5 separate regions of the Homo sapiens genome follow, and all the other regions are linked to region 5. The links are contacts of gene promoters, found by promoter capture Hi-C in blood cells and fetal thymus (Javierre and others, 2016). All regions are on one chromosome and are shown on one strand. Each heading gives the region's core, a stretch centred on a gene start or on the middle of the fragment in contact. The rest is flanking DNA. Distances are from core to core; before and after follow the strand shown.

Evidence for each region. Contacts are between HindIII fragments. The CHiCAGO score rates a contact against its expected background, and 5 or more counts as called.
Region 1: a contact is called between a fragment that was not itself captured here and the fragment with the promoter of UBE2W in region 5, in 5 of 17 cell types (fetal thymus, M2 macrophages, M0 macrophages and 2 more). The highest score is 16.4, in fetal thymus.
Region 2: a fragment that was not itself captured here is called in contact with the fragment with the promoter of UBE2W in region 5 in 1 of 17 cell types (M2 macrophages); the score reaches 5.2 in M2 macrophages.
Region 3: a contact is called between a fragment that was not itself captured here and the fragment with the promoter of UBE2W in region 5, in 1 of 17 cell types (M1 macrophages). The highest score is 5.9, in M1 macrophages.
Region 4: a contact is called between a fragment that was not itself captured here and the fragment with the promoter of UBE2W in region 5, in 1 of 17 cell types (fetal thymus). The highest score is 6.8, in fetal thymus.

Annotation. Positions count from the first base shown.
Region 1 is chr8:74,338,522-74,341,221 of GRCh38, reverse strand. No RefSeq gene overlaps it. Among named protein-coding and RNA genes, the nearest start is that of GDAP1, 11 kb to the left of the region's middle. The HindIII fragment of the contact is 1,052 bases long and covers 847-1,898 here.
Region 2 is chr8:73,489,870-73,492,569 of GRCh38, reverse strand. All of the region lies in intron 13 of STAU2 (staufen double-stranded RNA binding protein 2), which reads left to right. Among named protein-coding and RNA genes, the nearest start is that of STAU2-AS1, 71 kb to the right of the region's middle. The HindIII fragment of the contact is 3,881 bases long and covers 1-2,700 here.
Region 3 is chr8:73,512,654-73,515,353 of GRCh38, reverse strand. The region is part of intron 13 of STAU2 (staufen double-stranded RNA binding protein 2); the gene reads left to right. Among named protein-coding and RNA genes, the nearest start is that of STAU2-AS1, 94 kb to the right of the region's middle. The HindIII fragment of the contact is 1,227 bases long and covers 730-1,956 here.
Region 4 is chr8:74,297,688-74,300,387 of GRCh38, reverse strand. The region is part of intron 2 of JPH1 (junctophilin 1); the gene reads left to right. Among named protein-coding and RNA genes, the nearest start is that of JPH1, 23 kb to the left of the region's middle. The HindIII fragment of the contact is 2,590 bases long and covers 1-2,587 here.
Region 5 is chr8:73,877,434-73,880,133 of GRCh38, reverse strand. UBE2W (ubiquitin conjugating enzyme E2 W) reads left to right here and starts at 1,272. Exons shown (of 6, transcript NM_018299.6): 1 at 1,272-1,326. The coding sequence starts at 1,312. It overlaps LINC01617 (long intergenic non-protein coding RNA 1617), which reads right to left and starts at 1,152. Exons shown (of 3, transcript NR_147034.1): 1 at 1-1,152. RefSeq lists silencers at 1,040-1,329, 1,470-1,519, 1,540-1,799 and enhancers at 1,186-2,063, 2,540-2,589. The HindIII fragment of the contact is 3,471 bases long and covers 273-2,700 here.

The DNA.
Region 1 (2,700 bases), core at 123-2,622, 460 kb before region 5:
TCAAGTAGTCTTCCTGGACATCTTATTTTATCATTCTCTTTTCATATTTAAAGGAATCTTTCCAGAGACTTAAGATCATTTGGAATATAGCTTTGTCATTCAAATTAGAGTATTTAAGAATACACTGGAATTTATTTTTCAAACATCCTTGCTGTTGTGTTCTTTTCGTCACTAAATAATACACAGAAAAGTTAATTTATGTCTGCATTGTCTCTGGCTACGTGAGAAACACGGCATAAAAACTCAGAGACATAAGCTTTAAAGAAAGAAAATGCTAATGTTGCAAAGGTTTCTCTAAGTAAGATTTTGCTTTGTAACTGTATAAATAGGGCAAGTTAAAGTTCTGGGCAGCAGCAGACAATGAGCAGCAATAATCATTTATGTTTCTTTGGCACCAGCTTCAACACACTGGTATGATTTTTTTTTTCTTAACCACCCGTTACCAAGGACAGTGACAGCACAAATATGAGAATGATTACAGTACTATAAAAACATACTTCACTTACCTTGTTTGTCTTAATAAGATCCTAAAGAAGCATAAGATAACAGTGACAATAGAATATAGTGCTGAATTTTACAGAGACACCAAAGTGTAAAACAACATTGGCTTTCACTTAAGTACTATATTTTTCAAATAAAAGTAATATTGCAATCCATAAAGAAAAGATCAATTTAAATCCTCAGTATGTAATTGAAACAAATGAAAGCACGGAGTTGAGTCTGTGGTTACTAAAGTTCCATGAGAGAAAGGGGTGATGTGGCCAAAGTGAACCTGCTTCCAGGGATTCCCTGCGGGGACAGGTTGGAAAAGTCGGTGAACCACAAAGATGGCAGAGCGGAAAAGCTTCACTTTATGAAACTGCATCATTTTGGAGCAGGGAAGTTTAACAGAAAAAAGGGAAACTGGTCAAATTCAGGTGATGCCTTGGTTTCCAAAGCACATATGAAGAATCAGCTACATATGTTAGCTTGAAAACTATTCAGCCTAAGAGACTCCTGCTGTATGCAAGTTATGAAAATGCATAAGCCCCATCCTACCAGTTTCAAGTGGCAAAAGAAGATGGTAAAAACACAACTCCCCAGAGATATGGACATTTAGTATATGAAATTGGAATATATATGAAAATAGAGAGATGAAGTTGAGGCATCTAGAGCCTTAATGGCTAAAATCCAGTGGCTTGGTCTGGAAGGGAAGCCTTGATGAGTTTTGAAGGGAGATATTCCTTCCTGTTAGACTTCCCAGAGCAAAGGTGCTGATTCTGTGCAAAGAAGTCACTGAAATCTGATGGGCCCTCTTTAAATAACTGATGATCAATGAGAGCCCTCTTTTTTACCTTCCTGATTACATCTGGGCCTTCACGGCTGTGGCAGCTGCAGACAACAGCAAGTTCTCAGGCAGACATGCAGGGAAGTTCTCAGCTCCGCTCTCAAGAGCCCTGAGCCAGTTGTCCTGAAAGCTGATTTAGAATGTCCTCCCCTGTGGCCAAGAGGGTGCCAAGCCCCTTCTAGCTCTGAGTTGGGGTCTAGACCCTATGCCCTGTTTCTTTCTGTGCTAAGTCACAGCTCTGAAATCAGCACCAACTTTTGTACACGTTGCTTCCAAAGCCCTGAGCCACCCCTCATAGCAGTGGGCCTGCTGGGTGCCGTAAATGTGATCCTGTCTGTCGTTTTAGCCTCAGCAGAAGAGCGACATGACCATATTTATTGCTGTTGCTATTCTGGGGGGTGGATGACGTTTTTCTCCCCTTGTGGCTGAGCCCTGCCTGTTCATCTTTCACCACTCCCTCCAAGTCTACAAGACTAAAACCAGTGATACAAATAGATTCTATCAGGAGGAAAGTTAAAATGAGAAGTTCTTAGGCATTTCCAAATCTATCTGCTGTATGTCATCAAAAGCTTCAAAATCTGTTGGCCTACATTTTAAACGTGTACTGTTAGCATCCCACTAGTACCATAAACAGCTATTGGTGGTAACCTTGTTAAGGAAAGAAAAGATGGATAAAGGGTGGGGGCGGGGGGAGCGGGGGGTGAAAAAAACAGTTTGACTGATAAGCACAGCTTAGAAATTTGGCAAATATTGGCTTTTTCACTGCGGAGTGTTGGGAGTGTCCAAGTGTTGCCAGAACACTTGAAGATTTTCTACTTGCCTGTGTGTGAGCTCAGTCTCTCCACTCTTCCTAAGACACTCCTCTTTTGTGACGTGAAAGAAACTAAATGACAAGCCACCGAAACTCCAATTAAGGATAAAATGATACAAGGCACAGGTGACGGCTCCTGGGACGTAAGTATACACAGGTTTTCTAAATGAAGGACTTAGATACATAAATAACTAATTACAACATGCATTACATGATGCACCAAAAGAGAAGGACTCTTCCTGCTTTTTGGGGTTGTAAAAAGGAAAGAAAGAAAGAAAGAAAGAAAAACAACAAATGAGACTGATTTTGGCTCCCTCCATGTCTGTATGCACCTAGTTCATCATATGCATGTGACATTTTAGCTTTGCTAAAATGACTGTTCAGATTCTTTGTGCTCTTCTGCAAATTTGATTTGAAATGTACACAGAAGCAGAACAGTATAGCGGAGGCTGCAGGTTGCAGAGGTGATGAGCATGGGCTGTGGGTGTAGAGCCCCGCTTGGCCACAGCCCAGGTGTGGAAGTGCTTGAAGATGCCATTTCCTCTGTAAAATTAAGGTCATA
Region 2 (2,700 bases), core at 85-2,584, 390 kb after region 5:
GTGTGTGTATGTTGATGGCATTGGCATTTGCTTTTCTTCCTAATTTTTAACTCTGAATCATGTAGAAAGTATTTTCAAGAGAGTACTTATCTAGGAAGCATCTTGTCAATTGGAGGTGATTTACTAAGCCTCGGATTCCATTTTAGCATTGGCTGGTAATGACCGTGCATTGATGGAAGCAGTAGGAGAGGTTGACTAAGGTAATGAGTACTGCTGTGATTGTGGAGTCACCTCTGAGAACTTTCACTGAACTCTGTACTTAGGCTTTCCAAAACAACTAAAAAATTCTTAACAATAGAAAACAGTCTGAGCTCATTTAATGGATACCTGGTAATTTTCTGACATAATAGTAGCTTGTATGGCATAGTTTACAATGCCAATCTGAGTCAGTAACAAAGAAATGCTTTATTGTTTTTGTACTCTACATTTACACTAAACTCCTAAATGTTGAAAGTAGAAAACACATCTTGGTACTGGGCCTTTTCTCACCCCAGCCCCCACCTCTACTTCTTGGTGGTGTGGGGAAGGAATTTTCCATTAACTCTCTCTCTTTCTCTGTGGCCAGCATAAAGGAAAATAATCAAAACACGCCAAATCAGAAAAACACTGAACCATGAGATCTTACTCAGTTTAATGGTTTCTTCTCTTGCGTATTTTTACATTGCTCAAAGAAGACTACTTCTCATTTATTTCTTAAGGATAAGTTTAGTGTACTAATTTTGAACCAAGGAGTCAGAAAATGGAAGTTCTAGTCCGAACACATGAACAAGTAAATATTTGGCAAATCACTTAAAGCTCTGTAGGCCTTAGTTTCCTCATCTGTGAAATAATGGGTTTGATCTTTGCTATCTTCAAGGTTCTTTACTGTCCTATAATTATTTGATTGAATCTGTTCCAGGTTTCTAACTTAGGATAAAAGTTTGTTTGAAAATAAGATTTTAAATGTAACTTAGCTAATTTTTTTAGTTAAAAAAAGCAAAAGTACACATTTAAAAAATATGTCTAAACCCCTTAAACAACTATTTCCCCATCCCTGCATGCTGTGCCTTCCTAAATAAATCCCAGAGCAAAGTCTAGGATGATTTTTTTGTGCACAAGTACACACAGAAATGTTAGGGGAAATAGACTGTGTGCCTATTTAAGTCACCTGTTGAGAAAATAGGCAACTATTGACAAGTCTGATTCATGGCTGAGTGACTGCTCTGCTAGCCTTCACATGATCCCCACAGAGCAAAATCTTTGACCGCCTGCTAAACAAGGTCTGTTTGAAGTTTCTTTTTAACATTTCCAAAACGTTAATTCAGCAGGATGTCTCCTCTGGGGTTCTCCATGTCACCAAATCAGCAGCTGTTGAGATCCATTCACTTCAGCATGAAATGTTTTCATAAGTGCTTTTTTTATTTGTGACAACAGCAAAGTAAATATAAGCCTAAAATTCTACCTCATTCAACATTTACATGTGTTAAAACTGCTTCTGATTGTAGTTTACATTCATGGTGTTTATTTCCAGGCATTAATACTAATAGACAGTTTTACTGCCGAGGATTTGAGATCAGCCTTGCCTATAAAATAAACTATACCATGAATTTCTTTTCAGAATACTTTATTTAAACATTCATACTTTGAATATGTAAGAACTTACGACTTTAAAACAGAAGTGGATGTTTCTTATGAAGCTCTAATTTTTGTGATTTTTGTGCCAGTTTAAGGTACGTTTAAATCTCCAGATGAACTATTTGTTAATTTTGCATGGCATTATTTATCAATTCTTTAAGAAATTTCCTACTTTAGAAGGAAGAATATTGAGCTCCCAGGAAAATAATTTAACAGGATAAAGTAATGTAGAATTCTTGAGGTAAGGAACTGAGGACCAGCAAAATCTGATGGTAAAGATAAGGCACAGCAATTTCTACAGATCATATTGAATTGTTTGAATAGAGCTATACTCCTTGGAGCTGGAATCTTTTATTCCTTTTAAGTAAAGGCCGTGTATCTTTGATTGCAGAGTTAAAACATGAGAACTGCTACGTTTTCTCAACATGGATTGAGCTAAGTCCCTTTTAATGTTTATTCAGGTTTTAAAAGACTTAAGTGTAGTTTTACAAGTTCATTAGCTTGCCTCATTCTTTGAGATGCATCTCACCTTCATATTATCAAATTTCATTACATGCAAAGAATTATCAGATCAACCCATTATACAGCCTAGCAGCATGAAGTCTTTTTCCATCTACAGGGAGAATATTGTGTAAATCAGGCTCTCGGGTTTCAGTGGGAGGCAGAGGGTTGCGCGGTGTCCATTTGTCAAGTTGATGGCACCGCAGTGAGGTTACATTAGCTTGTCTTTGAACAGAAGTGAAATCTTATGCGAAGCTCCCCTTGCTGTCATTTACACGAACATCCATCCTCTTAAACCAAGGCCTCTGAGAAAAACAAAGTGATGGCACAATATAATCAGTCACTCAAGTTGTCTGTCATCTGTTTTCTTAAGGAAATGACTTTTAAGTTACTGGAGCAGAGAACTGTAGCAAATTAACAAAGGTTGTAGTAGTAAAAGTAGGTGGAATTTTTTTAAACTGCAGATGTCTTTCTGAGAAGATTTTATATGCAGAATGCCAAAAAGGATTTCCCCCCTCTCTTTCATAATGAATCTCATGAAAAGTATTACTTCCTGAACAATAGACCTACTGCTGTTAACAACTG
Region 3 (2,700 bases), core at 94-2,593, 360 kb after region 5:
AGGCTGTCCCCTGATACTGTCGTGCCAATTGTTAAAATGTTTAAATACTTTCATTCCACATGGCAAATAGCTGCTACCTCATGCTTCACCCCCTGCCTTCATGGCCTCATGTCCAGGACCTCTGGGACTTCCCCATGGTCTAGGAACTAATAGGTCATTATTTGGCCCAGCAGTTTTCAGGACTCTGTTTTCTTTTCTAATTTTATTTTCAGTTTTCATGGCACACTATTAAATAGTTTTAATACTACTGCTGCTTTCAGAGGTATATGTAAGAGTTAAGGTCTTCAGGAAAAAAAAATCCAAAAGTGTTCATTTTCAAAGAGTTTTTAGAATTTTCATTGAAGATCAAGAAACATTTTATTCACTCAACAGTCATGTTTTAACCACCAGCTGCATGTCCACCACTGTACTAGATGCTAAGAAGTATCTTCTATTTTGTAAATAAAGTCCTAAATTGATTATAATTAAAAGTTGGAGGCAAGGGTTATATGAGAAGTCTCTGTAAGTTGTGCTCAATTTTTCTGTGAATCTAAAACTGTTCTAAAAAATAAATCCTTAAAAAGGAAAAAAAAGTTGGAGAAAAAATAAAACATATACAGAAACAATTGAAGACCAATTGCAAACCAGTAAGATTTTGTGCCAGAAATGTTTTAAAAATCTACATATGAATACTGAAGAGCTATGGAGTATAGGAATGATCAACAACAGAAGAATTAATCTGATTAAGCTTCTTTTAGGAGTTGATGGACCAAAAATTGAAAGGCAGATTATAAGGACATTCCACATAGGGGAAACAGCATGAGAAAAGGTAGAAAAATGGAAGTTGACAAAGAATATGTGGGGATAGAAAAACTCAACTTGGTGGGAGTTCCAGACATAAATGATTGTACATGAGATCAAGGCAGTTGAATACATTCTTGAAAGGTAGGCTGAGCAGTATGAAATTTATGTTCTTTGCAACAAAGAGCCGTTCTTCATTCAGGAACAAGGGATGTGATTATGCTGGTGTCTATAAGATCAATCTAGCAGCCAGATGCAGAACTGACTGTGATGAGGAGGAAGGCTTCTATCATAGGAATTTAGGAATGGATACTGATCACCTTGATGGGTGTGACTCTGAAAATGGCAAGGAAAGCAGCATCTCTCCTAAAGAGACATTGCAGAGAAAAAATCAGCAGGCCTTGATGACCAGCTGAGTATGAAAGAGTGAAAAAAAGCTCTTAACAATAGTTCTAAAGGTAGACTACCAAAAGAACAGAGTGAGAGCTGAACAAATTCCCTTTCCAAAAAACAACAGAACTAGACAAAATTGTCAAAAACAGCAACTTTAGGACTCTGAAAATTGATAAAAGACACTCAACAAATTGAGAAGCATTTATTCATAGACAAACTATAGTGCTCCAAGTAAGCTAATTAGGATTTTGTGGTGTTTCTGCCTGCGGGTGCTCCCATCCCCCACCTGCAGACTCAGCACAATAGTTCTACAAGGGTAAAGAAGGCCATGAAAACCATCAGTTTCACTGATGGAGTGGCCTTCCTTGATATGAAATGGAATGTGAAAGCCCCATGCCCACCAACATTATGAGTAACAGTAGACATCTCGGTAAGAGACAAGAAAGGCTAGCTAGCAACTCAGTGAACCTGAGGTTACATTCCTAGTTGGGGCCAACAGTGTATCAGCAGACTAGCCAGAAATCTATCAGGGAGATTTGGGAAAATGGCACAGTGATAGGGAGCCTTGATAAACTCACCAAAACACTTCAAACACAAGCAGGAGATATCAAAGAGGGCTCAAGCTACCTATACACCCTGGATGACTGTGAAATCTGCACATATGCAGAGAAGATGCAAAAAGGCCTGGCAGAAAGTAAATGCCAGGGCAGACTTGAAAACTGCCTGAGTTTTTAATGGGCTCCCCCAACCCAACCACAGACCCATGGGCAGAGGGTAAAAGCTTTACTAGCTTAGGGTATTTGAGCATAACCACCGACTAATTACTGGCTGACCACTAAGCTATGCAGACATGGGAGTGACCCCTAAGAATCAGGCTTAAAAATAAAAACAAAAATAAGTTTTAAAAAATTAAGTAGAGAGATAAGCAGCGATGCACCATGAAGGAGATGGATTCCACAGATTTAGTTTAGGCAACTTAATAAACAAAAAAAGAAAACCACAGCAAGAACAACAATCCCGAGGGAAGAACATAAAAATCCAGAGTTAGTACAATATTGTACCTAAAATTCAGGCTTAAAAAATTACAAGATATTTAAAGAAAGAAAAGGGTGATTAATACTTAGGGGGAAAAAGCAGTGAATGGAAGCAGAAGCTGAGTGTTTCTGAGTGGGCTCAGATGTACTATGCAGACAGATACTTCAAAGCAGCTAAAATATGTTCAAGGAATTAAAGAAAACCAGGATTAAACGAAAGTATAACAACAATGGTTCAACAAATAAAGAATCTCAAGATAAATTATTTAAAAAGTCAAATGGAAATTCTGGAGTTGAAAAGTACAATAACCGAAATGAAAAATTCACTTGAGTAACTCAATAACAGATTTGAGATGGCAGAAGAACCCACACCCATAAACTTCAAGATAGATCAGCGTGTAGCTTTGAAAGGAAGAAGCAAAATGTTCTTTATTTCCAGATGATGTGATCCTGTATGTAGAAAATCCTGAGAAATACCCACCCCCCACACACA
Region 4 (2,700 bases), core at 43-2,542, 420 kb before region 5:
AGTCAATTAGAGAAAATGCATGTACATGGGAGGTAGTTAAAAAAATAACACGAAGCAATTCAGTCAGTCCCGTATTTGTTTATTAGTGCTCTGCCACATTCCATGAAGGTTTCATAGTTTATATAAACGTCAAAATGGCTAGTCTTCTAGGAATTAACAAAGGAGTGGATTGACTTGTTTATAAAGCAGTTCCAAAGACTTTTACTTGGCCTATAGCCTAGTGATATTTTGTTTTTGTTGTTTTTCATGGTACTGTGTGAATTTGACAGTAAAAGCATTTTGAAAAATTATTCTAACTCTTCGCTAGATCAGAGTAACTTTCAGCCCATTGTTGGAACTATGAAAATGTGATTCTAGAGTAAGTAGTCACTACTGTTTAATTCCGTAAGTGAAAACGAGGGCGAGAAGAACATATTGAAGGTTTTCTTTTCTTTTTTTCTTTAAACTTTTTAGTAATGAATCACTTTTGTGGTGTTAAAAGTTCAGCTACAAAACTTTATTGTTTAAAAGTTTTCTTTAAATTACAGTTGCTATATTTGTAACAGTTAAAGATGTGCCACTGTATTCAGCACCCAATGACAACATGTTAAAGATACTTCAAGGGAAATAGAAGGCATACACCAACAAAGGGAAAAAACAAAACAAGCCTCAGACAGGCACCCCGCTCCCCATAAACAGTGTCTATGTAAATATGCATATGTGGCTGTGGTTAAAAGAAAAACTTTAGCCAAATTTAACAGAGTTTAATTGAGCAAAGAACAATTCGCACATCAGGCAGCCACCCGAGCCAGAGTGGGTACAGAGATTCCAGTGCAGCTGTGTAGTTGAAGAAGGGTTATAGACAGAAGAAGGAAAGTGAGGTACAGAAACAGCTGATTGGCTACAGCTCGTCATTTGCCTTATTTGAACACGGCTCGAATCGTTGACCCCCTTTGATTGGCCCAAAACTCAGTGATTGACACAAGAGTAAGCTACAATCTGTATACAACTCCATTTAGGTTATAGTTCGTGGTGTGCAGAGAAACCTTTAGGCTGAATGTAAAATATGTAAGGAGGCAGCTTTAGGCTACACTTAACACCCTAAAGAAATACTGAATAATGAGAAAAAGGGAGAAATATTAGAAAGACGAGGTGAATAAAGAAGGTCCCGGTATGATTAGTGTGTCTGGTGCCAGGAAGAGTTGCTCTGGAATGACTTCGTAAAGAAGTTGGTCCTTCGGCAACATTTTAAAGGGAAGCTAAGGGAAGATTTGTTCACAGTGGATCGAAATTTTACCAGGTGGGAGAAGACCCCATCTAATGATGTACAGCCCGAGGAGAAAAAAACCCCCTCAAAGGCAGTAAAGGTCACCAGTGTTCATTATTTGTGGGCAGTGTCGTCTTCGTGGCTTTTTGTAATAGGTCTTAATTTTAGCTTCATAGCCTGTTTAATCTTCTCCTGATATTCTGGGTTGATGTTTCGTAATGGCTCCCATTGCCAGTAGTAGAACCTGAAAACAAGGATCTTTCATATGCACACAGGTCTCTCGTGCCTTCATTCTACCACCAGGAAAAACATCCAGAAAGGTAATAAATTTGTGGAGAACAGCAGTGGTATGACTACTCATATTTCTGAAAATGAATGCTGTTGTAGGAAAGTTAGGAAAGTGGTGGAGATATTAGCTACAGCCCTACTGTCAGATTTGTACCCTGTAGCTTCATCCTCTTTTGAAAAGTCTTACAACAAACCCACCTGGATTTTGCGTTGCAGTGCCGTCGAGTACAGCTGAGTCATGGCAAGAGAAGAGGACAATTAGATAAGGGGTGCCTGACTATTAAAGGATCTGAAAAGCACTAACCAGGGTATTATGCAACACACAAGTGGAAACCGTTTCAGAGTGCCGAGGAAGTTATTAACAGGAGCAAAACAACATGTGAGGAGAGTGATTTTAGCTACAGTGCTCAAGGTAGATTGCAAGCAGCAGAAGTTGGGGATGAGATCATAAAGGACATGAATAAATGCATCTAGGCAATAAAGAACTGCACCCTTGAAATTTGTAAAGGAAAACCCATCTTGTATACAACAACCAGCTGTATACAAGGGAGTTAACGTTCTAAGGATGTGAGTACAATTAGCTAAGAGCATAAGTGGCACCATAAAGGCTGATGGAGACATTATGGGGAGAAAGATAGTGAATCTGATGTGTGGACATTCAAGGTGATAGATAAAAAGATAACATGAGTTTCAAGTAAGAACAGTACTTTGAAGCCTTGAGCACTTAGCAGCTTCCCGAGGATATGAATACATCAAAATTGGAGATTGGCACTGGCATTTATAACAGCAATTATTAGGAAAGTGAGTAGAGGGGGCTGGAATAGAGAAATCTCTAAAGAAGAGGCAGAGATGATGACCTGTGTGTGGAAAGAAGCAGAGAATTATTTTTGTGCTACTATTAAGACAAAATGCTAGACAAGGTTCAATTGTTGTTATAAATGTAATTTCTCTATATAATTTCATCATCTAAAATCAAATTAGCAAGTACTTTTTATTTAAGGGGTAATAAGAGTAGTCATCACACTATCTAGATAGCCACACACTATCAAAGCTTTAACTCTTCATGTTGACTCTGACTACGTTTATATAAAAGAATGAAATTCACATCTATAACTTTCTTTGCCTTAGAAAAGGCATTTTCCAGTTTTTATTAGTTGTGTGCAAAA
Region 5 (2,700 bases), core at 23-2,522:
TAATATTATACCATAGACTAACTGGCGTATTTTAAAGATCTTTTTCCTTTTTGAACACATTTCAGATTAGAGAAGTTCCAGAGAACGTAATCTATTTTAAGAGTGTGAAAGAGTGATATTCCACATTGCTTTTATATCTTAAAGAAATTTCTAAAAAGAAAGCCGAGTCAATAAAATGACAGATTTTAAGCCTTCATTCTGGTAACATAAAAGCCTTCTACTCATTGTGTCTGCCACCTTAATTTTTAAAGATAGAGCATGAGGTGTAAGCTTTTGGCTTCCATTTTCCTCTTATAAACCAATGACATCTTCAGTTCCAGAATAGCTTTTTAAAAACGTGACTTCTGATAAATGTTGGCAGAACTGGTGCATTCCTAAAATAAATTATGTATGCTCAGCTTTCCCTACCCAAGTTCATCCCTAAATGACCACAAAACTGCCCACCACGAACTATGCTTAAGAGAAGTCTGGACATAATGGTATAAGTGTATATAACACGACATTGGTATATTTAAAAAAAAATTCATGCCTAGGGTCAATTCTGATAATCAAATTTAGACTGCTGCAACAACCGTAACTATTGTTGATATATGCGCAGTTTAAAAGTGAAGGGCGGGGGTAAGGGGCAGAAACTGCACACAACAAACTTCCAAATTTTGTCTCCCTTTTCAGGCAAGTTTCAGCTCCACAAATCTAAATACCCTCGCCTTTAAAATATCAGTGTCGTTCTGCTCTTAAATCCTCATCCCGTTGTACAAGGAAACCTATGTCTCTCTTCCCCAAATTAAGAATACGAGAAGCCTTCCAGGTCTGCAAATACCAGAAAGCAGCTGCGCATGAAGTTTTATGGGGCCCCAAGGCTCTGAGAGTGGGCTTGGAGGTATGGAAAACACATCCCAAGGGAAAAATCTGTGAACCGCACAACTGTGGTTGGAAACGAAATAGGAAAAAAACTGCGCGGAACCGGACGTCATCAGCATTTCGCGGTACACACGAAGAAAACAACCGTAGTCGGGTCAAAACTGGAGCCGTGTCTCCTCAGTAACGAGAGTAAATGGGGGCCCGACGCGTGAGCGGCCAGCCGGACTGAGACAGAAAGTACTCAGAGCGCCATTTACCGCGCCCTCGCCCCGCCCCGTAGCCCCTCCTCCCGTCCGCCCTGCGCGCCAGCCAATCCCCTCGCTCCATCCCCTTCCCATCGCAGACCCCGCCCCCGCGCCCGGGATGTTGAGCCCCCGCGGCGTGACGCGAGCACGGCAGCTCCTCCCCCTGCGTCTCTGGCCTCGCCGGTCTTGGGGGGATGGTTCCATCATGGCGTCAATGCAGGTGAGAGGAGTTTGCTGCATCTGGGCGGGCCAGGGAGCCGCCGAGAGAGTGCCAGCGTTCGGGCGGGGGTGGCGTCCGCGATTCGGGGACACCCGGGCGGGTTCGGGATCGGTCCGGGTGGCCTGTTTTCCCTCAGCTCAGGGCGTCGGGGGAGGGGTAAGAGGCGGCGAGAGGCGTTGTGGGGGGTGCGGTATCCGTCGGTCGAAGCGGACACCAGCCGGCCGGGAAGTTGGGTGATAAAGGAGGGTTGGGGAAGAAAGGGCAAAGTCTGGCGTTGGCGGTCTCAGAATCGGCTCCCCGCACACACACACGGGCGCTGCCAGTCTGCTGCCCGCCAGCCCCAGGGTTGCCTTTACCCCCGCTGTCCCTGGCCCGACGGAAACAGCTGCGCCCGCGGTTGTTGCCGGGGCAGGGGCGGCGGGGGGCTGAGTGTGCGGGAGCCGAGAATGCGTCTCCGGAGAAGGCGGCTGGCTGCGGACGGCGCTTAGCGGCCTCTGCTCCGGCCTCCCACGCCGGGCCCCCCAGACTGCTCGGCCCCGTCCCTCTCTTCTTCCCTTTGACTCTTAATCCTGTGCCCGTGGGTATCTTCTATTTCCATCAGCCTCGGTATTCTCGCGGACATTCCTCCAGCAGTCCACTGTCTCCTTCCTCTCGAAGCTGCCCCGTGTCCACCGCCTGATGGGCGATCTCCCGAGAGCCGAGTCCTCAGCCCCCTTAAACCTCTCGGGATAGCTTGCCTTCTATTTTGTTTCCCACTGCAAGGCCCCACCCTTGCGGTCGCGATAAGGCTATACATCTCTTTGCCCTTATTCCCAGACCTTTAGTGGAACCTTAGTTTGGTAGGAGGCGTTTGTTAACCTGTGCCATATCCCCCCGACTTAGCAAGGCGTGGTTTTCTGGCTTTCCAACTTAATTTACTCCTTTTTCCCGAATCTAGGGAGTTGTGGGTTTTTTTGTTTTTTGTTTCCAGGCAAAGATGGCAACCACAATTGTAGTTGTGCAGGGATTGAGTGCGTTATCTGTAGCCTGCATTTAATTCACAGGTGAAGACTAGCGGTATCAAAGGCATTGGAAGAGAAAGTAGAACGCTCAATAGGAGTGTCAGCTGAGTACCCTTTAGCGTTTTCATAATATCCCCTTGGGTAAAGAGACCACATTTTCTTAGAAGTGTTTTTTGCTTTTGTTTCTGGAAGAAGCAAGTCTCTGTTCCTCCTCCATTTTTTTTTCTTTACTCTGCTAAAAGTGTTTTTCTTCCCTTTTCTGCATCTTCTTCCTCTTTTGTACAAATATAGCTTTGCTTCACATTTACTCCTGTGCTTTTATGTTATTCCCCTTTCAACCTGTTTTCCTTACAATATTCTCTTTACCTTGCTT